Linked DNA regions of Homo sapiens: regions 2, 3 and 4 are each linked to region 1. Evidence: promoter capture Hi-C in 16 types of primary human blood cells and fetal thymus (Javierre and others, 2016). All regions are on one chromosome and are shown on one strand. Each heading gives the region's core, a stretch centred on a gene start or on the middle of the fragment in contact. The rest is flanking DNA. Distances are from core to core; before and after follow the strand shown. Region 1 holds the start of DUSP7 (dual specificity phosphatase 7). Region 2 overlaps PHF7 (PHD finger protein 7). Region 3 overlaps DNAH1 (dynein axonemal heavy chain 1). Region 4 overlaps DNAH1 (dynein axonemal heavy chain 1).

Region 1 (5,220 bases), core at 1,675-4,174:
AGGGAGACCCTAGTGAGCTGGACACCCCTCCTGGGAGCTGCAGGTGAGGGAAGGCCTGAACCCTAAAGGCAGGAAAGACCACATTTCTAAAGAGGAAGAATGATTCCAAGGCCTTGGAATCACCCAGGGCACCAGGTTGCTGCCAAGAACGACCCTCTCCCTTGAGGGAAGCCTACAGCTGCCAGGCAAGGCCCCGGACAGGGACAGCTCTGGTCTCTTGCCATGTGACCATAGGCGAGTTCCTGCCCTGCTCTGGGCCTTGTAAGTCTGGGATTGAGGGTTCTTCCCCACAGTGAGAACCAAGACTTAGGGCCTTTCCTCCAACCTCCTCCAACCTGCCCGGTGGGGGCCCAGGGTCCTGCTGGCACATCAGGGGCTGGTTAATTTTCCTGCCAACCCTTTGCTTCCACTGTCACCCCCTCTCCACATGCTCCCCCTTCTCCTGCACTCATCCAAATCTGCCTCTCTTTACCTCCTTGTTAGAGGACGCCCTCTCCTCCTGCTGCAGGAGCTTTTCACACATTCTCACAGATCTCTCCTCCAGGGTGTATCCCCCACTACAGGAGTCTAAAGGGAGAGAGACAGGAGTCATTGCAGGCTAATGTGAGGGATGGCGGGACCCCTTTCCTCTCTCTAGGGTAGTTCTTCCTCATGCCTGGGTAGTGGGGGCTGGGGAGGCTCAGAGGAGGCTCCCATTTCAGTTGTTCCCTTGCTAGTGAGAGCAATGGCCCATTCCTCACCAGGCACTCAGAAGCGAGTATGCTTCAGCGCCGTGGGACACGCGCCCAGTCTCACTTGAGGACAGCATGAGCCTTCTGTTGATGTGACTCTGGCCTGCCCCTCAGGGATGTCACCCTGACTTATTGGGCACTTGACACCTTCTTGAGCTACCATGGACCCGTCTGGGGAGGGAACACCAAGACCAGTCTCTGCCCTAGAGAAAGAGGGGTCTGTGTTCATCCTGTGGTAGGCCTGGGAGAGCACCCAGACCGGCATCCAACCCCATGGTGGAGCAGAGGGGAGAGGTAGCCAGGCCTGAGTGGAGGATGGAGGCTCCACTGTTGTCACTCCGGCTCCAGGCAGGCTGGTACTCAGGAGGCCCTCAGCAAGGCTTGCTGAGTGAATGGTGCACTGCTCAGCAGCTCACCCTCCCCTGGGAGTTTGCTCAGGCCTCTTTTTTGAGTGCTGCCTCCATCCCTGACAAGCAGCATCCAGCCTGCCAGCCGAGAGGCCTGTCCTCAGACCACGTCCTCCCAGCCGGATGGATTCATAGACGGATTGGGCTCAGTCCACACTAGCACTCTCCTACACTGGGAGACCCAAGGCCCAGAGGGAAGAACCATACTAAGGTCACAGGACACACCTGCAAGTGGCAGGACAGAATCTGGGTCTTGGCATCTTGGGCCCTGGAAGCTCTTTCCACAGGCCCAGGACCCCCAGGACAACCTTGGGCGGAGAGTTGCTTCTCCTTTCACACTCTGAGAATGTGACTGTGGGAGAGACCCCTGCTCCTTTGGGATACAGCCCTGTGGCCCAGGATGAAACTCTTCCGAAAGACTATCCCTCGCTTGAAAGACAGGCGGGGACTGCTCCTGAGTCACCCCTTTTCGTGCCTTCTGGTCAGAGGTTAGCGGAAAGCTCAAATCCTCGGGGTTCCAGAGGCCGTCCCTCAAGCACCACCGCTCCCCCAGTCAGGGATGGGGGCAAGGTGTCTCAGAGCCGACCAGCCTCGGGCGGAGTCGGGGGGTTAAGCCCCAAGGAGGGGCACCCCGCCAGGCAAAAGAATGGACCAGATAGACGGCAGGGTCCAGCCTCAAGCTGCCACCCTGGCTCCGTAGGGAAAGCACTGCAGGTCCTACGCAAGCGCGCCGCCTGCGTCTAGCCGCTTTGTTCTAGCGCTACCTGCGGGTCCATTCACCTCCGCTGCCCCGCCTGCCTGCAAATCGACACACAGGGCGGGCGGAGGCCCCGCCCACTTCCCCGCCCTGGGTGGAAACCGCGGCGGGCCCCGCCTCCCTCCGCCACCGCCTCTTTCGGCCAGGATTGGCCATCTGCATGGCAGGCGCCCGCCTACCGCGGAAGTTGATTGGTCCGTTGAGAGGGAGGCAGGGGAAGGAAAGCTGATTATAAAGGAGCATTCCCCTCCCACCGGCCCCGTGGAAAAAGTCACGTGGCGCTTCACTGGGCGCCTGTCACCACCCCGCTTGTAAAGCTTTCTTAAAGGGCTCGCGATCCCTTCCCAAAGCTGGTCCTTTCTAGGATTTCTCCACACCTGCCCACGGAAGGTGGCACGGCCCTGAGTCTTCCTACCCCGCCAGTTGCCCAGGTCCTGATTTCCCATCAGGCCTGCTGGCGTGAGACGCTCTCCCTCAGGTCTGGAGCCTGTGACCGTCAGGGGAACGATGAGGTCCTCTGAAACGGTGACCGCCTAGCACAGTGCCTGGCACGTAGTAGGCGTTCAGTTCTCATTTGTTGAATGAACTCGATGACAGAAAAAATGAATGGGATGACAGGCGGGAGGAGGAGAGGTTGCTCAGCTTGACCATCCCCCCCACCACGCCCCGTCCCAGGAAAACTATGCTGTTGTGAATGTGGGGTGGGGGTGCCAGGCATAGGACGCCCCCAGGGCCTCTCTTCCCGCAGTGTCCAGAAGAGCTTGGGAGCACGCGCAGAGTGAACCCATGAGGGCGTCTAGGCCGGGGTCCCTAGGCGGATCGTAGTCAGCTCCGAGCTAGTCCAGGGGGCAACGGTGCGGAGGCGGTGGGGGAGGGCCCCGCCGCTGGTCTCCCGGGCTCGGGTCGCGAGCGCGCCCGCATACCCCGTGGGGAGGGGCGGTGGAGGCGCTGCGCCTTTAAGCCCGGGCGCCGGCCCCCGCGGCCCCGCCCCCCGGAGAACGCCTCGGCGCGCGGCCGCCGGAGCCGCCGTTTAATTGGGGCTGTCAGGCCGCGGTGCGCGCGGAGGGCCGGGCGGGCGGGCGGGACGGAGGCCGGGAGGCCGGGAGGCCGGGGCGGCGGGCGCGCAGCTCGGCGGGAGGCGGGCGCCCGGAGACGCGGCTGGGGCCCGCGCGGCCGGGGCGCCGTCCCAGGGCAGGGCTGCCCGGCCCCGGCCCCGGGCCGCCCGCGCTCCCCATGAAAAACCAGCTCCGCGGCCCCCCAGCGCGGGCGCACATGTCGACTTCGGGGGCGGCGGCGGCTGGGGGCACCCGGGCGGGGTCCGAGCCCGGTGCGGGGTCGGGGTCCGGCGCAGGCACCGGGGCGGGCGCGGCGACGGGGGCAGGGGCCATGCCCTGCAAGAGCGCCGAGTGGCTGCAGGAGGAGCTGGAGGCGCGCGGCGGCGCGTCCTTGCTGCTGCTCGACTGCCGGCCGCACGAGCTCTTCGAGTCGTCGCACATCGAGACGGCCATCAACCTGGCCATCCCGGGCCTCATGTTGCGCCGCCTGCGCAAGGGCAACCTGCCCATCCGCTCCATCATCCCCAACCACGCCGACAAGGAGCGCTTCGCCACGCGCTGCAAGGCGGCCACCGTGCTGCTCTACGACGAGGCCACGGCCGAGTGGCAGCCCGAGCCCGGCGCTCCCGCCTCCGTGCTCGGCCTGCTCCTACAGAAGCTGCGCGACGACGGCTGCCAGGCCTACTACCTCCAAGGTGAGGGCGGCACCGAGACGCCTTACGGGATCGGGGCCCCCCCGCGACTCCCTGACGCCCCCCTTGGAGGCGCTTTCCTCTCCACGCGCTCGGCCTGCCCCTCTGGGCGCCACGTCGTCCCCGGCCCGCATCCGCCCTCCTGGAGCCGGGTCCCCACTGTGTGGTTTGGCAGGCGCGGGGCTCCCTCTGCGCCCCCTTTCTCGGCACGATTCGAGTGGGTGGAACAAACTTTCCCCTGCCTGGGGTTTCCTTTTTTTTCCTGTTGATGGGGCGACAGTAGTGCCTGGGCTCCAGTGGAGCCCCTCAGAGGTGGAAGGCGCCGCCTCCCAGAACCCTAAAAGCGGCAGGGCGCCCAAGTCCAGCCTAGAATTCGTGTTTCTGGAAGGCCAGGATCAGGAAGGGCACCTTTCATAGCACCATCCTCACCTCCAGCGCATGGAGACCATTTGGGTTGGGGTCTCCTGGATCCGGGAATTGCTTCTTCCACCGGAGAATTGCCGCCTCTAGGAGGCGCTTGGGGCAGGGTATGGGCAGGCTCCATTGCCCTGGCCCGGGTCTCTCGGGACCCCCAGGTCCCTAGCCTGCTGCCCCGGAGCTTGCAGAAGGGAGAGGTAGCACCGGGGGGCGAGTGGCTGAGGCCGGTGTTTCCAATTAACATTCCAAAATGGCCTCTTGCTGGCAGCGGGGCGGGCGGGAGGGGAGGGGAGGCCTGCGGCACCCTCGGGCGCAGGGCCCATGCCTCGCTGCAAGGGGCTCCCCATTTCTCCTGTCCCTGTATCGCCCCAGTGGCCCTCCCCCGCTGCAGGTCCAAGGCTGGGGGTGGGGCTTGTGTTCTAAGGGAGGGTTCTAGAGAAGTGGAGCCAGGACCCCCTTCAAAAACCTGCCCCTGCTGGGGGAAGGGGCCAGCCAGTACCTTCCCACTACCCTCCCCAGCTGTAGTTTCGGGGCTGGGCAACCACTAGACTCCCGTTCAGGAAGCCCAGGACCTCTCTGCCTCTAACTGAGCCAGATGTGGCTCTGGCACCTGTGGTCTCATCTATAAGAGGAGTTTGCCAACCCAGAGGTGCTGGCTAAGATGGGGTTGTCTGCTTTTCTTTACCACTTAGCTGTTACTGAACACCCATGGGTGCTAGGTGTGCGTGGGAGCTGCAGAAGAGGAATTAGCTGGGGCCTGTCCTCAAGTGCCCTAAAGCTGGTGCCATGGCTGGGGGCCCCGAAGTGTTATGGGTACCAGTTTGGAGTCCAGGCACGTCACTTCACCTTCTGGGGCCTCAGTTTCCTTATCTGTGAAGTGGTCATGGTTTAGATGGAGAGAACACGAGAGAGGGCACACGTGTAACATGCTTGGCATGGCCCATGCTGACCGTGGGTGCTGTGGTGTTTGGCGTGCAGAGTCCTGGCCATCTCTGGTCTTGTGCAGCCCATCTGGGCTCTCACCAGCCTCTCACCCAGGCCCTGTCTCACCCTGGACACAGGTGGTTTCAACAAGTTTCAAACAGAGTACTCTGAGCACTGCGAGACCAACGTGGACAGCTCTTCCTCGCCGAGCAGCTCGCCACCCACCTCAGTGCTGGG
Region 2 (5,744 bases), core at 3,137-5,636, 360 kb before region 1:
TAGGGCAATGGTGGAAGGGACCCAGGGCGGAAAAAGCCCCACCTGTATGCACTTGCGGTGGTAGATGGCTTGACTACAACACGGGCTCTGGATGTTCTCAACACTCTGTTGGGATAAGTCTTCACAACATAAGATGCAGCTTTCCTCCCCCACATGCCCATGTTGGATGTTCTGTGTTGGGCGATGTTTGTCACAAAATGATCTGTGGCAGGTAAACAGACTTGGTTTCTGGTTTGTCATTGATGTAGTTTCCCAATGGCCCGCTCTAGGAGGGGCAGCCAGCCACCCAGGCTGGTGCCCAGTGAACCTCCACACATGGGGAAGAGGAGAGGCAGAGTGAAGAACTGCCACATGCCTTCTCACGGCTGCTCACCTACTGAGCAAAGTTCCCAGGACTGTCTCCATAGCCTCTCGTTCCTGAAAGCCCCACTTAGTGCTGAGCAGCTGTCTAAGAACCCCAGCTGTTTGTAATTTAAGGAGGGGTCAGGAAGCAAGAAGAACCCCCTGTGAAATCTCCAAGTCAAGACACTGTTTCTTATTACTGAATGGAGGGACAGATTCACTGGTGAATCAAAACAGGCCTGCTTGTGAGAACTGGACTCTGATTTCATTAGTGGCTGAATAATAAGTTGCAAAAAGGAAGCCAGACTTTTCCCTTCCCTCACTCACTTGTACTCTCCAAAAAATTGTGAAAGGCAACCCCTTTCTTGGCCACAAGGCAGATGGAAGTTTCTGAGGCACTGATCCTTCTGGCAGTTGATAGCAGCTCCCTTTTTCTTGCACACAAAGCAGATCTGCAAATGAGTTCCCAGACAGTGCTCAGGACCCCAAGAAATGCAAACACACACAGTGTAGCACATCTTTCTATTAAATGGAAGTTTTGTGAAATAATAGCCATTCCCTATCTTCAGTGGTCCTGAATGCTCTGGGGCACCCGGAAGCTGAGCTTCAAGCAGCACTGAGTTCTTTCCTATTTTCTCAAGATGTTTCTCCCTCTTCTCACTTAGGACACCCATACCCCAGAGGAATATGGGACTTAAGGACTAGTTGGAAAATCCAAGAGTCCTTTGACATCTAAACTAGGAAGTAGGGAAGAGAACAGAAACAGGAATGATGGGTGAGGTATGAAAAGAGGCCTACCCCAAGGTCCTCATTTCAAGAGATTCTAACCTTCCTAGAAGCCCGGGCTGCCTCCTTTTTGATGTCTTCAGGCAGAAATCCATGGAAGCCTCTGTTGGACTGGCCCCTCTGAGGCAGCTTACTAGATAAGATCTGCGGGGGCAGTAGAACCAGGCTGTTAACAATGATGATCAGTGAAACAGTGCAGTGAGGTGAGGAGAAGGACAGGGTAAGAGAGCTAAAGAATAGAGCTTGGGCCGGGTGTGGTGGCTCATGCCTGTAATCCCGGCACTTTGGGAGGCCGAGGCGGGCGGATCACGAGGTCAGGAGATGGAGACCATCCTGGCTAACACGGTGAAACCCCATCTCTACTAAAAATACAAAAAAATTAGCCGGGTGTGGTGGCACGCACCTGTAGTCCCAGCTACTCAGGAGGCTGAGGCAGGAGAATGGCGTGAACCCGAGAGGGTGGAGCTTGCAGTGAGCCGAGATCGTGCCACTGCACTCCAGCCTGGGCCACAGAACAAGACTCTGTCTCAAAAAAGAAAAAAAAAAAGAACAGAGCTTGGTGGAATATATATGCATTGACAGGGTAATTTATTTAATGAAGGCTTACATGGCACCAACCATGTGTTGAATACTCTAAGTGGTTTCAAATATTAACTCATTGAGTCCTCCCAACAGCCCTAGGAGGTAGGTACTATTATTGTCCTCATTTTATAGGAGAGATGATGCGACCTGCTCAAGGCCACAGAACTCTGGAACCTGGACTCTTACTTTTGCTCTAGGCTGCCTCTCACTTACTGAGGGCTGCTATTGTGTGCTGGGACTTTGGGGGAAACATTTCCTTTGTATTTACTCATTTTATGCTTACAATCCTTGGCCAGGCACGGTGGCTCACACCTGTAATCCTAGCACTTTGGGAAGCCGAGGAGGGCTGACCATCTGAGGTCAGGAGTTCGAGACCAGCCTGGCCAACATGGTGAAACCCTGTCTCTACTAAAAATACAAAAACTAGGGCATGGTGGTGCGCGCCTGTAATCCCAGCTACTCGGGAGGCTGAGGCAGGAGAATCGCTTGAACCCGGGAGGCGGAGGTTGAAGTGAGCCAAGATCAGGCCACTGCACTCTAGCCTGGGCGACAGAGCAAGACTCCGTCTCAAAAAAAAAAAAAAAAATTCCTGTAATGGCAGATGCTATTATGATGCTCATCTTACAGAGGAGGCCGCTGAGGTGCAGTGTGGCAAGTGACACTGCCTCCCAGGGTTATAGGACAAGGAGGAGCAGAGCTGGCTATTCACACCCAGGCCCATGGAATCCCCATTCTTACCCTTCCTGCTGCATCACCTCTTAGTACAGAGAAAATACTCTTCTCAGAGTAATACAGGAAGAAAAACAGGGTTTTAATATCTCTTGATTGTTGTTGTTCTGTATTATGGGGGAAGGAATTGAACTTTTGAAACACATATTTTAAAACTAATTATCTCAGGGCTTTGGGATGAGTGATTTGTTTTCTTCATATTTTTAAGTATCATTCATGTTTTCTGCAATAAGCATGTATTGATTTAATAAATTAGCTACTAAAAAGAAAAAACTATATCTATATGTTCTATACAGAAAGATTTCCAAAATATATATGATGGAAAAAAGCCAAGATACAAAGCACTCTGTATAATGTTTAATTTTTATGTAAAAAATGTATATGCTTGTAAATACATCAAAATTATAACTAAGCCCTGACACCTGATAGGACTTACAAGAAAGGAAAATCACAGACCAATCTTTCTCATGAGCACAGATATAAAAATCAAAACAGATGCAAACTGAATCCAGCACCATATAAAAAGGACAATACATCATGACCAAGTAGAGTTTATACCAAGAATGCAAGACTAGTTTAACATTAGAGCATTTAGTTGATGTAACAAACTACATTAACAAAATTAAAGAGAAAAATCAAGATAATCTCAATAAATACAGGAAAAGTGAGAAAATTCAACACCCATTCATGATACTCTGGGCAAACTATATATGAATAAAAGGGATCTTCAACCTGATAAAAACATCTATGAAAAAAACCTAGAGCTAACATACTTTAATAGTGAAAAACTAGATGCTGTCCCCTGATGTTGGGAACAAGACAAGGATAACAACTCACACCACTTCTATTCAATGTTAGGTTAAAGGTCCTAGCCAATACAACAAGGCAAGAAGAAATAAAAGGCAAAGATTGAGAGAAAGAAGTAGAACTGTCTTTATTCACACATGACATGGTTATGTGCATAGGGAATCCTGTAACAAGGCATTTACAACAAAATAAAAAAACAACTAATCAAACTCAATTTAACAAGATTACAGGATACAAATCAATATACAAAAATAAAATGCATTTCTATATACCAGCAATAAACTTAAAAATGAAATAAAAATACTATTTACAATAGCATAACCACAGAATATTTAGGAATACATTTAACAAAAGATGTACAAGACTTTGTCACCAAAACAACAAAACATTGCTGAGATATATTTTAAAAGACCCAAATAAGTGGAAAAATATACCATGTCCATGGATTGGAAGGTTCAATATTTTTTGTCAATTCTTCCCAAATTGACCTATAAATTCAATGCAATCCCAATCACAATCCCAGTAGACTTTTTTTTTAAAGAAAAATTGACAAGCTTAATATAAACTTTATAAAGAAAGGACCTGATAGTCAAAACAATCTTGGAAAAGATTGTAGAACTTAACAATACTGAATTTCAATATACTATAAAGCCACAATAATCAAGACAGTGGGGACTTGTGTAAGAATAGATACATAGATCAATGACATAAATAGATTATCCAGATCCACAGATATATGGTCAATTGATTTTGACAAAGGCACCAAGGCAATTCTATGGGTAGGTAAAGATTTCTTGCAACACACAAAAAGCACTGACCATAAAAGAAAAAAATGGATAAACTGGGCTCCATTACAATTACAAACTTGTTCTTTGAAAGACACCATTAAGAAAATGAAAAGGCAAGCCAAAGACTAGGAAGAAAATAGTCTCAATACATATATTTGAAAAAGAATTTGTATCTGAAATATATAAGCAATTCCTACAACTCAATAATAAAACCACTCAATTTTTTTTTTTTTTTTTTGAGACGGAGTCTTGCACTGTCGCCCAGGCTGGAGTGCAGTGGCGTGATCTCGGCTCACTGCAAGCTCCACTTCCTGGGTTCACGCCATTCTCCTGCCTCAGCCTCCCGAGTAGCTGGGACTACAGGCGCCTGCCACCATGCCCGGCTAATTTTTTTATTTTTAGTAGACACAGGGTTTCACCGTGTTAGCCAGGATGGTCTCCATCTCCTGACCTCTTGATCTGCTCGCCTCGGCCTCCCAAAGTTCTGGGATTACAGGCGTGAGCCACTGTGCCCGACCACCACTCAGTGTTTTTAAATGGGTAAAAATATTTGTACAGATACTTAACAAACGAAAATATGTGGGCCGGGCCAGGCGCGGTGGCTCACGCCTGTAATCCCAGCACTTTGGGAGGCCGAGGTGGGCAGATCACGAGGTCAAGAGATCGAGACCATCCTGGCTAACACGGTGAAACCCTGTCTCTACTAAAAATATAAAAATTAGCCATGCGTGGTGACAGGCACCTGTAGTCCCAGCTACTTGGGAGGCTGATGCAGGAGAATTGCTCCAACCCGGGAGGTGGAGGCTGCAGTGAGCCAAGATCATACCACTGCACTCCAGCCTGGGCGACAGAGCGAGACTCCATCTCAAAAAAAAAAAAAAACCAAAAAACCAAAGAAAATATGTGAATGGCCAATATGCACATGAAAAGAAGCTTTAGTCATCAGAAAAATGGAAATTAAAACGACAATGAAATACCAATACACACCCAGTAGAATGGCTAAAATTAAGAACACTGACAAAACAAAGTTCCGGCAAGAATACTGTGCAACTGGACTTCTTATAAATTGCTGGTAGGAGTGTAAGCTGGTACAACCGCTTTGGACAGTGATGTGGCAACCTCACATAAAGTTAAATATCTAATTAGCATACAACTAGTAATTCCACTTCTAGGCATCTGCACAAGAGAAGTGAAAGCACATGTTCACAAAGAGACTTGTACATGAATGCTTAAAGTAGCTTTATTCATAATAGTCCTCAAATGGAAACAATTCAGATGTTCATCAACAGGTGAACAGATAAGCAAATAGTAACTTATTCATGCAACCGAATACTACCAAGTAATAAAAAGGCACAAGCTATGAATGCATGCAACAACATGGATGAATCTCCAAAACACTGTGTTGGGAGAAAAAAGCCAGATACAGAAGATTATAAACTATATGATTTCACTTATATGAAGTAAAAGAATAGCCAAAAATAATCCATAGATCAGAACAGTGATTACGTCTAGTGGGATTGACTGGAAAAGGAGGCAGGAGGGAACTTTCTGGGGTGATGAAAATATTACCTATTTTGATTGGGGTGGTGGTTATTTGGGGACATACATTTATCAAAACTTATCAAACTGGACCCTTAAAATTAGTGAATTTTGTTCAAGACCAGCCTGGCTAACACGGTGAAACCTGTCTCTACTAAAAATACAAAATTA
Region 3 (5,442 bases), core at 338-2,837, 290 kb before region 1:
CTCAGGATGTGCCCATGACTGGGCCTGAGGGTGGGTGACCCCTGCACTTCACTTTGAAACTGGGCTCCGAGATCGGAAATCAGCAGACCTGGGGTGAGCGTGCACACCATCTCCCCCGTCCTCACATAGGCAGACCCCTTGGAGGCCATTTCACTCACTCACTCACTCGCTCACTCACTCCTCAGCACACGTTGCCTATGCCGCTGTGTTCCGGCACCTGGCTTGCTCAGGCCTCATCTGAGCCAGCTGGCATCTCTGTCCTTTGCGGACAGGCCTTTCTGTTCCTTGAGTTGGTCTCTGCCATCGATCTCTCCCTCCCTCCCACCTCTGCCACATCTGAATAGTCCCTTTAGCCCTGGTAATGGCACCACAAGGGAATCTCAGTTTCCTGCAGCCCACACTTGCACCAGAGCTGCGGGATGTTGGAGAACTTCGTAGGCAGGGGACTGGTCTCACCTTCAACACACCCTCAACCTGGCCTAGAAATCTACTCACTCCCTCGGAACCTGGAAAAGACTCTCTCTCACCTTCTCTGCCAACTCACAGACACACCCTCCCTCACTGGGTGAAGTCCCTCGAATTTCATCCGGAACTCAGAAGCCATTGGACAGAAATGACCCCATCTTCACACCCCGGAATCTCCCTGCCTTCTGCCAGGGTAGAAGGCATGCCCTGCTCTCAGGAAAAGCCCAGCAAGCTCAGCCACCTCAGTCTCTTTGCCTTCCCTCCCACGCCCTCCCAGGGGTCCCCACACACTCTGGTATGTCCCACATTAGAAGCCGCCCCTTGACTTCCTTCCCTCCTTTGACTTTATCTCTTTGTGTTTCTTTATGAAAAACTGGTGTGCTCACTTCTTCCCATCCTCATCTCTTCCCTCGCTACCCCTGAGGCCACTCCAGGCTCTGCCTCATCTCACTGGACTCTCAGAGACTTGGCACAGTGGCTCCCTCCTATTCTGCTGCACCGCTGTCCTCACGGAGCTTCTGGGACACCCTTCCCCTGGATCTTCCTCACCTCCCTGACTTCTAAACGTTGGCCTGTGCCAGGGGTCCTGAGACCCCTCGTCTTCCCCAGCTATACCTCCCACCAGGTGAGCTCCTCCAGCCTCGGACTCTGAACACCACCTGTTCTATTCAGCCAGAACCCTCACACCTATCTGCAGTTCTCTCCCTTCATTTATCCACCAGCCCACTCAACACTGACACTGGATGCCTTACAACGTGTCAGAACCAGCATGTCAGAAGGCAAGCTCTTCATTTCTCTCCATCCCCTGTTCCTCGCTTGCCCCCTATCCCCACTAGCCTCCTTGTCTCTGAACAGCATTGCACACACCCTACTGACCAAAGCCCTACGGAGGGGTCCCTGGTCTCTTCCTGCTACTGGATGTGCAACACCATGACTGGGCCTGAGGGTGGGTGACCCCTGCACCTGATCCTGAAACTGGGCTTTGAGATTGGAAATCCCCAGACCTGGGGTGAGCTTGCATTTAGTCCATTAGCAGCTCTCATTGGCTCCACCGCTGAGGAAACCTCAAATATATCTCTTTCTCCCGTGCTGCTCAGCTACTATTCTGGTTCAAGCCACCATCATGATCTCTGGCCCTGATTATGGCATTAGTCTCCTCATTGATCTCCCTGCTTCCACTCTTGCCCCCTTACAACTCATTCTCTACTTGAGTTGGAAAAAATATATTTTAAACATGTAAACGATCAAGCCACTCCTCTGCTCACCACCACCCATGGCCTGCACAGACTGTCGGCCTGTGGCCGCGTCTCTGCCCCTGCATGTGGTCCAGCCTCCCAGACCAACATCTCTCTCTGCATCCCAACCACAGTAACCCTGCCCTGCTCCTCAAGTACCACAAACTTGTCCCTACCTCAGCCTCTGCACTGCTGCTCCTTCTGCCAGAATCCTCTTCTTCCCTTACTTTAGACCTCAACTCAAATGTTATCACCACTGTGAGAAAGGCTTTCCCTGACCGCCTAATATAAAGAAGCCCTTCTGAGACATCTCTATTCCCTTCTCTCGCTTGGTCTTCACAGCACTTATCAGAACCCTAAAAACCCAGATTTTTCATTGTCTGTCTTTCTGGCCAGGCTGAGAGTCCCCAGGGTGCAGGCTCTTTGTTGGAAATGTTCACTCCTCTGTACCCAGTGTCTGGCACAAGATGGGTACTTCCACACATGGCTGCTTGCTGGCCTGACATCCACTCCCTCCCTTCTTCCTCAGTTTTGTTCCAGAATTCCATCCTTCCTCACTTGACTCAGGGGAAGATGACTACAGCCCCAGCTACAGGGGTACATCTCAGCTAGTCCAAGCCAGTCGTGGTGGAGCTTGCCCCAACTGCAGTTGGTTTAGGTGTGGGAACACGTCCCAGTTATGATCAACCACTGATGCAGATATATAAAAGTCAAGCCCTTTGCAGTGAGCTAAGATTGCTCCACTGCACTCTAGCCTGGGGGACAGAGCAAGACCCTGTCTCAAAAAAAAAAAAAAAAAAAAAAAAGTCAAAGTCAAGCCCTCTTGTTCTGGCTCCCTCCAGGACAAATACGGTGGTGCCATGCTTGCTCTAGAGTTTCCCACAGGATCAGGCTGAGACTAGACTTCTAAAACCATATTTTACCAGCTGCTTCTTCTATTATACCCTGCTTCCTTCACTTCCTTATAGATTTCTCCTGAGAGGATTTCATAAATCGCTTGCACAAGAGTCCCCACATCAGGGTCTGCTTCTACGGAACCCAATCTAAGACAACCTTTGTTGTGGTCATGAAACTGCTGCTGCCATCTCGCCTGAAGATGAAGCCAGCATACACTGCAGACAGGGCCCTGATGCACCAACCCTGGGGCGTCCTGCATTGGTTTTCCTGCTACAGGTACAGGAATGCACTTCCCTGCTGTCTAAGACAATCTGAGACCAGCATCTTTGATACTTAAAGCCAAAAACATTATAAATTGAATAAAATTCAAGAAACAGACTTCTGGACAGCCAAGGTAAGGTGGCTATATCGATTCAAATTTCCCAACACATCCTAGGAAGGAAGGAAGGAAGGAAGGAAGGGAGGGAGGAAGGAAGGAAGGAAGAAAAAACTAACACTACCAAAACCCACACCTTTAGCACAACTAGAATCAGCAGAATGCCTAGACTTCAAATTATCTGTAAATTAAAAAAAAAAAATCTATCTCCAGTGAGCTGTCTCTCACACTCTTGCTGCAAGTTTTCACAGAGAACAAGGGCAGTCTAAGAAAAACTGCAGAAAAGGGAAATAGTGGTAACCCTAAGATAGATCTAAAATCCTACCAGAGGCCGGGCACAGTGGCTCATGCCTGTAATCCCAGCACTTTGGGAGGCCGAGGTGGGTGGATCACCTGAGGTCAGGAGTTCAAGACCAGCCTGGCCAACATGGTGAAGCCCCGTCTCTACTAAAAATACAAAAATTAGCTAGGCGTGGTGGTAACCACCTGTAGTCCCAGCTACTCGGGAGGCTGAGGCAGGAGAATCATTTCAACACAGAGGGCAGAGGTTGCAGTAAGCTGAGATCACACCACTGCTCTCCAGACTGAGTGACAGAGCAAGACTTCATCTCAAAAAATAAATATAAATAAATAAATAAATAAATAAATAAATAAAATCCTACCAGAAAGAGAAAGTAACCCAGGCTGGGCGCAGTGGCTAATGCCTATAATCCCAGAACTTTGGGAGGCCAATGTGGGTGGATGAATTGAGCCCAGGAATTCGAGACCAGCCTGGGCAACAAAGTGAGACCCCCATCTCTACAAAAAATAAAAAAATAGCGGGTGTGGTGGCACATGCCTGTAGTCCCAGCTACCAGGGAGGCTGAGGCAGGAGGATTACTTGAGCCCAAGAGTTTGAGGCTGCAGTTAGCTGTGATTATGCCACGGCACTCCAGCCTGGGTGAAAGTGAGACCGTATCTCAAAAAAAGAGAAAGTAACCCTAACTGTAAAAATACTGAAAAAAAGCCCTGGTAAATCAGAGCACTTACTACAAGGAAGGGACTTAAGGGCATGCAATTCAAAGGCAGTGTTCTTTGAAAGGCATATGACTTATGGGACAGGAGGCAGAAGGAAAGGGGTCATTTGTAGACTGGAGGATAAGGGAAAAGAAGCAAAAGTGAAATGTTGAGTTCTGCAAGATAAGAGGACAAAAACCTTGGAGGACCCACATCCCTCTCCCCAGCACGTGTGTACACACACACACACACACACACACACAGACACACACACAGAGCACATTCTAAAAACAAACAAACAAAAAAAACTAATGTGCAATACTGACAGAAGAGGGCGCCCTTGAACTAGAAAGCTTGCAAATCACTCCAAATCCTGAAATGAATAGGTGAACACCGTCTACATTTGCTTCTATAAGAAAAAGAGAGCATCTTTTAGCTTTGTTTGCACATTTGAGAAGACAAGAGCATCTTAACTGATAAAATTCCCATCACCCCTAAAAAAATAAACAAGTACCAAGCAGAAGAAAACTGTAACACAATACTTCAGCTAAATAGCCTTAAACGAGTGTTTGGGCATCTGAAAAACCACCTTGAATCAGAAATTCAAAAATAAAACATATAAATGGACAAATGTCGGTAAGAAAAGAGACTTAATTAAGCTCAAGGAAAAAATGGAAAATAAAAGTATCACGGGGAGGAAGCTGAAATTACAAGGTGACCGAGAGAAAACAGAGTCAAATCAAAGCATAATGAAGTAAATTGAAGAAAGGCAGGATATAACCAAGAGAATAAAAATGAGAGAAAATAAAGGAAGTAAAAGAAAGAAAATAAAATTTTAAAAAATAAAATTAGAAAAAACTAAAAAGGGTCGGAAACTGGTTGAATTAAAAGATACGCAAAGCAGCAGCAATATATAAAAAGATACATAGATACATAGAGATATAGATACATAATGGAATCCTTGATGAAGAAAAACAAAAGAATGGAACAGAACCAAGATTTAAAACTATAATTCAAGGGAATTTTTTTTTTTTTAGACGGAGTCTGGCTCTGTCACCCAGGCTGGAGTGCAGTGGCACAAACTCAGCTAACTGCAAGCTCTGCCTCCTAGGTTCAAGCAATTCTCCTGCCTCAGCCTCCCAAGTAGCTGGGATTACAGGCACCTGCCACCACATCTGGCTTTTTTTTTTTTTTTTGTATTTTTAGTAGAGATGGGGTTTCACCATGTTGACCAGGCTGGTCTCAAACTCCTGACCTCAGGCGATCCACCCACCTCAGCCTCCCAAAGTGCTGGGATTACAGGCGTGAACCACCATGCCCGGCCAACCTCAGACTTCTTAAAAGCATCACACAGGCAAGGCAACCAAAGTGGAGAATTTTTAAAAAACTCATAGAATAAAAGTTGTGAACTAAGAATTTTATATCTGGTCAAGCTGTCCTTCACGTTTTAAACGTGTGAGAACTCAAGGAACT
Region 4 (5,158 bases), core at 409-2,908, 320 kb before region 1:
TCGGATGCCCCCAGCTTGGGGGAGGTGAAGAATCTCCTGCTCTGCACCCCTTATATCTTTATGCTGACATGGCCTGTCGGAGCACTGGGACTCATCATGGAACTGGGGGCGCTCGTGGGGTCAGTGCTGGGCGGGGCCATTACTGCCTTGTCCTATGGAGGCTGTGCCCAAACCTGAACATTCCACCTCTGAGCCACACTTGGGGAGGGTCTCATGATCCACGTAGGCCTCAAGATGCCGGAGTGGGCGTGGGGAGGCTTGGAGCACACCCCCGACCTTGAGGGCTTACCACCCACTTCGGGGCTGCCTACCCCTCAGCCTGCATTTTTACCACTCATACACCTATCGGCCTGTTCTTTGAAAACTATCCAATTCTGTGCTGGGAACCCAAATTCTGTCAGTGGAAACTTGGCGGAGAAGTGGAGAAAATGGAAAGAAAGGGCAGGAGAGGGGCCTGTCTGTTGACACAGGCACTGGGCACAGAGTGACCCAAACAGACACACTCCTTGCCCTCAAGCTGACACTCTTGTTGGTAAGGACGACAATGAGTGGATTAGCAAGTAACAAAGACAGCAAATAGGTGGCAAGGGCTACGGGCAGCCCTGCAGCAGGAGAGGGGTCCGGGGAGGGCCAGAGTTGGGCTTGGGGGCGATTTTACGGAATGCTGGGGGAGGCCTCACTGAGGAAGGGGGGTCAAGCAGAGAAGTGAGATGCAAGCTTTCACATAACTGGAGAAAAATTGTCCCAGGCAGAGGGGACAGCAAGGGCAAAGGCCTGGAGGTGGGAGCAGGCCTGGCATCTTAAGGACCAGCAATGAGGGGATGAGCAGGAGGCGGTGAGATCAGAGGATGAGGCAGGGCGAACTGAGGATGGCTTTGCCTACCATTGTCAAGACCCGGGCTCTTGCCTGGATGCGATGGGTGAGAGAGGAGGAGTGTGGACTGATGGAATGATTTCATGGGTCCCTGTGGCCCCAAGCGGAAGATAGACCTTAGGCAGGTGAAGGCAGCTGCCAGGAGACCATGGCGGGGCTACAGCACTGGCTGGGTGGGCAAGGACAGGGTGGTGAACAGTGGCCGATTGGGATGGGTTCTCAAGGGAGAACCTATGGGACCTCCTGACAGGTGAGCTGTGGGGTGAGGGAAGGGGGGATGGAGGATGGCGCCAAGACCCCGTCTTGCTGGGAGCACCTGGAAGGATGGAGCTGCCATTGCCTGAGATGGGAAGAGTGCGGGGACCGGGGTACTCGGGAGTTTGGCTCTGGACAGGTTTGGCCTGAGATACCCTGTGGACATCCCAGGGAAGATGTGGAATCAGGCATTCATGGGAGAGGTCTGGGCTGAGGAGGTAGACTTGGGAGTTGCCAGCACAAAGATGGTTTTCCCCGTCAGAGGCGGGATGGGACTGTCTCAGGAGAGTGTGGTTGGAGGGAGAGGAGGCTGGAGACCAAGCCCCAGTCCAGCCGAGAATGGGCAGCCAGGGATGGGGGAGGCCTGAGAGAAGCCCGTGGCAGGAAGGGGATGTCTGCCGGCCAGCACTACTGACCCCTGGGAAGGCGAGAACAAGGGCTGACCGCTGGTCTGGCCACAGAAGGCAACTGGTGACAAGAACTCTCAGAGGGTGAGAGGTGCATTCACAGGAAAGTGGGAGGGGAGGGCGGGTGCAGCGGGAAAGACAATGCTTTGGAGGAGTTTTGCTATCAAGGTGAGCAGAGAGGTAGAGTGACGGGCTGGGGCAGGTGGGAAGGGGGCCCAGAGAGGCTGTTTTGCATTTGGTGGTTGAGATGGAGAATGGGGCTTGTTTGTGGAAGGCCCAGTGGCGAAGGGAGCACTGGTGTTGGCGGGGAAGAGGGGTGCCACATTCCCAGGCAGGCCCAGGAGGAGGCTGGGCTTTGCTGTGGAGCAGCAGTCCGTTCCCAGCCACAGGAGGGAAGGCAGGGCGCAGGTAAGCAGGTGGGTGCAGACCCAAAAGGGAGCTGTTTCTCGACAGCCTCTTTCAGCTGAAGGCAGGGTGAGGAGGCAGGCCTGGGCAAGGACAGGGACTGCAGTGGTCAGCCGCCTTGCCGCGACGACGGGCAGATTCACCACGATGCCTGCCCCGCACAAACCACTCCCGGCTTTCCTGTGCACACCTGCTCCCTGGAGTTCTGATTCTTCACACAGGGTGGGAGTTTGTTGGATTCCCTTATTTATGCATTCATTTTGCATTTAATTTGCATCTATCATCAGCTGGACACTAACGCAGGCATGGAAGGGCTCTAAGAATGGGTGAATGAGCCTATGGGGCAGCCAGTGCCTGTGTCAACCTTCGCTCTGGCACCCTAGTGGCCCAAGGTCCCTGCATGAACCTGAGGATGGTTCACCACGGCGCCTGGTCGCAGCCTCAACACACCCAACCAGAGCCCAGGGCTCCTCCTGGAACCAGTGCCCCATTCCCGCCCAGGCCCACACTTACGCACACGCTCCCGGTAGCTTTTTTCTCCAAGGAGTCCATCTAGAGGATGGAGGGAGAAACACGGGGCTCAGGGTTAGGTGGACCTCTTGCTGCTCACCCTGGCCAGGTGAGATGGTGGGGGAAACAGCATCTTGGGGTAAGCTTTTCCCCAAACCCCATAAAGGCTCAGAGACACTCCGTCCATCCTATCTTGTGGCTTTTCCTGATTTACAAAAGTAACATGCCTTCCCCAGAGTTTCTGGGCAAGTACTAACGTATACGTATGTATGTATGTGAGTGAGTGCATATCTGTGTGCATCATACATCCAGCAATCACCACGTGCCAGGCTTCATGCTAGGTGCTCTACATGCAATATCATACTTAACCCTCACGACCTGGAATGGTAGGTACAGATGAAGAAACAGGCTCAGAGAGATTCATGAGCTGCCAAAGATCACACAGCTGAGTGAGAGGTGAACCCAGGGTTGCGGTCATGGTTTGGCCACTCCACCCTTTCTGGTGGCCACCCAGTTGTCCTTGGTGTGGCCTCCCTGGCCTGGGCTTCTGCCTTTGTCCATGCTCACCCCCACCAATACTCACCCAACCAGTTGCCCAGGATGGTGGAGAAGATGCGTTTCTTGCTGACCTCGTCCATCTCAGCGAAAGACAGGTAGTTGAAGTGACGCATCAGCCGCGGGGTGACGGTGTTCCTGCCTCCACCCGGGGGGCCCATGGCACAGACAAAGTTGATGTCCACTAGGTTCTTGAAGGCACCTGGAGTAGGGGCAGGAAGTCAGGAAGGGCCCTGGCCAGGGCTGCATTATGACCTTTGTGGCCCCTTCTCCATACAAAAATTCAAAATTATACTTTAGAACAGTACTGGAATAAAGACAAATACATCAATATTACACAGGAAAATTTTTCTTTGCCCTAAAAATTCATGCTCCTCTCCTTTAACTTTTTTTTTTTTTACAAAGTTCAAAAGTACTTTTTATTGCAGACATTTTCATATACAACGTTAGTGAAATCGAGCCCCACCCCCCGCCCCCATGGTGAAGACATAGTCCTATCTTATAAAAACATTTCAAGTAACCCTGGACGTTTTCATGTCACTCTCGTTTTTAGTACCTGGGGATTGGCTTTGGCTAGATTTTCTATTTTAACCCATGCTTCTTCTCGTACTTCCATTTTTAGCTTCTCTTTTAGTTTCTCTGCTTTGGACTGTTGTGTACAGTCATCAAACAGCTTTTGTTCCATCTCTATGAACAGATTCAGGGCGTTGTATATCAAGCCATGTATTATCTTGTTCCAATGGGTCTTTGAGTTGTGGTACAAGGAAGGAAACATGATGGGCAGAATCTTCGCTGCATTGTCACTGATTAAACTCATGATGTATTCATTATTCCAGTAATAGAGAGCTCGCTCTGCCACCTGGAAGTGTGGGCTGGAGACACATTTGGCCAACTGCCGGAAGAGGGGCTCCATGGTCTTCACAAATTCTGATGGTTCAATGACATCTAAAATCGCTTCTAATTTGTTTAAGAACATTACTTCTTTTGGACTGTGAGTCTTTGGCCAGCATTTGAGAAGTGTCATCACCACTGGTTCTGTGGGGGTGCTGTCCTTTTCTAAAAACTGCACTCCACAGTATGCCAGCTGGGGGTGGTAGACACTCAAGAGATTTCACTTTGTGCAAAGGTAGTAACACCTTCAATAAGAAAATCTTGTGTTCTTCTTTTAGTGGTAAGGCAAATCCATTAATTATACTTCCCAATATTTCCAGTAACTCTGCTATGCCATTATGATGCTCTGTTTCATAAATAAACCTATAAAATATATTATTTATCTGTTTTCTGATGTAAGCTCTCAAGCCTAGGAATTTCCCATAGATTCTGTGAAGGGTGGTTTTAAGAAAATCTCTCTCCTGAGGATCTTCACTGTCAAAGAGCTTTAAAAGCTGCAATACAAACTTCTGATCAATATATTTCTTCGCTATATTAGATTGGAAATCTGCAGACTCTAAAAATCTTAAGAAAAATTCATAAATAAGTGTAGATGAAGCCAGCCTGCTTCTAACGTTGGTTCATCTTCCTCTGAGTCAAATTCTGCTCCCGTAGGATTGGAGGAAGGTGGTAATATTCGAAACATGTTAACTGCAAACATATGGACTACTTCTGGGTAAACAGGCTCTGTGATCACATTCCAATTATGGGTGATATATTCTACCATTTCACTTAAAGCAGCTCGTTTTAATTCCTTCTACTTTAGTTCACTTAGTGGATCAGAAACAAAGTCAAAAAGGACGCAACACTGACATAACTTCTGGATAAAAAACTTCTTTTGATCAGCAGGAGGAACATCTTTTAAGGATGGTAGTTTTTGAAGTTCTCTATTACTGCTTGCGCTAAACCTTGAAGAATTTTGCTGTTTGTCTTTCTTCACTATGGGCTGAGAGACGGGTACTTTTATTTTAGCAGACACTGTAGACGGGACAGCAACAAGGCTGTTTTTCCTGACGGAAATTTGCTCTGATTCTACTGTGTCTTGTCCTTCTTTTGAACTTTTTCCACTCTTCCCTGCTTTTGGTGATTCTTTCTCCTTCTTGTTTTATTCGGCATGGCTGGAGCGGGCCGCCACCGCCCTTGCCGCTTCCTGCCCCCGCAGCAGCAGCGCCCCCGCCCCGCCGTCGCGCCCCCGCGGCCACCACCGCCACCTGGGGACTGA

What was found. The method cuts DNA at HindIII sites, captures the fragments that hold promoters and counts their contacts. A CHiCAGO score of 5 or more calls a contact.
Region 2: a contact is called between a fragment that was not itself captured here and the fragment with the promoter of DUSP7 in region 1, in 2 of 17 cell types (neutrophils and total B cells). The highest score is 6.4, in neutrophils.
Region 3: a fragment that was not itself captured here is called in contact with the fragment with the promoter of DUSP7 in region 1 in 7 of 17 cell types (fetal thymus, naive B cells, naive CD4 T cells and 4 more); the score reaches 11.0 in fetal thymus.
Region 4: a contact is called between a fragment that was not itself captured here and the fragment with the promoter of DUSP7 in region 1, in 1 of 17 cell types (naive B cells). The highest score is 5.5, in naive B cells.

The regions. Positions count from the first base shown.
Region 1 is chr3:52,054,275-52,059,494 of GRCh38, reverse strand. It overlaps DUSP7 (dual specificity phosphatase 7), which reads left to right and starts at 2,924. Exons shown (of 3, transcript NM_001947.4): 1 at 2,924-3,645; 2 at 5,121-5,220. The coding sequence starts at 3,129. RefSeq lists silencers at 1,864-2,223, 2,624-3,003, 3,204-3,263, 3,584-3,633, 4,344-4,413. The HindIII fragment of the contact is 7,722 bases long and covers 2,215-5,220 here.
Region 2 is chr3:52,415,361-52,421,104 of GRCh38, reverse strand. PHF7 (PHD finger protein 7) reads right to left here. Exons shown (of 11, transcript NM_016483.7): 5 at 1,171-1,272; 6 at 670-794; 7 at 43-202. Among named protein-coding and RNA genes, the nearest start is that of PHF7, 7.6 kb to the right of the region's middle. The HindIII fragment of the contact is 1,167 bases long and covers 3,803-4,969 here.
Region 3 is chr3:52,338,595-52,344,036 of GRCh38, reverse strand. The region is part of intron 8 of DNAH1 (dynein axonemal heavy chain 1); the gene reads right to left. Among named protein-coding and RNA genes, the nearest start is that of DNAH1, 25 kb to the right of the region's middle. RefSeq lists an enhancer at 1-484. The HindIII fragment of the contact is 5,475 bases long and covers 1-4,324 here.
Region 4 is chr3:52,373,290-52,378,447 of GRCh38, reverse strand. It overlaps DNAH1 (dynein axonemal heavy chain 1), which reads right to left. Exons shown (of 78, transcript NM_015512.5): 45 at 3,035-3,208; 46 at 2,455-2,493. It also overlaps the pseudogene PPP2R5CP. Among named protein-coding and RNA genes, the nearest start is that of BAP1, 34 kb to the left of the region's middle. RefSeq lists a silencer at 5,001-5,158. The HindIII fragment of the contact is 1,878 bases long and covers 720-2,597 here.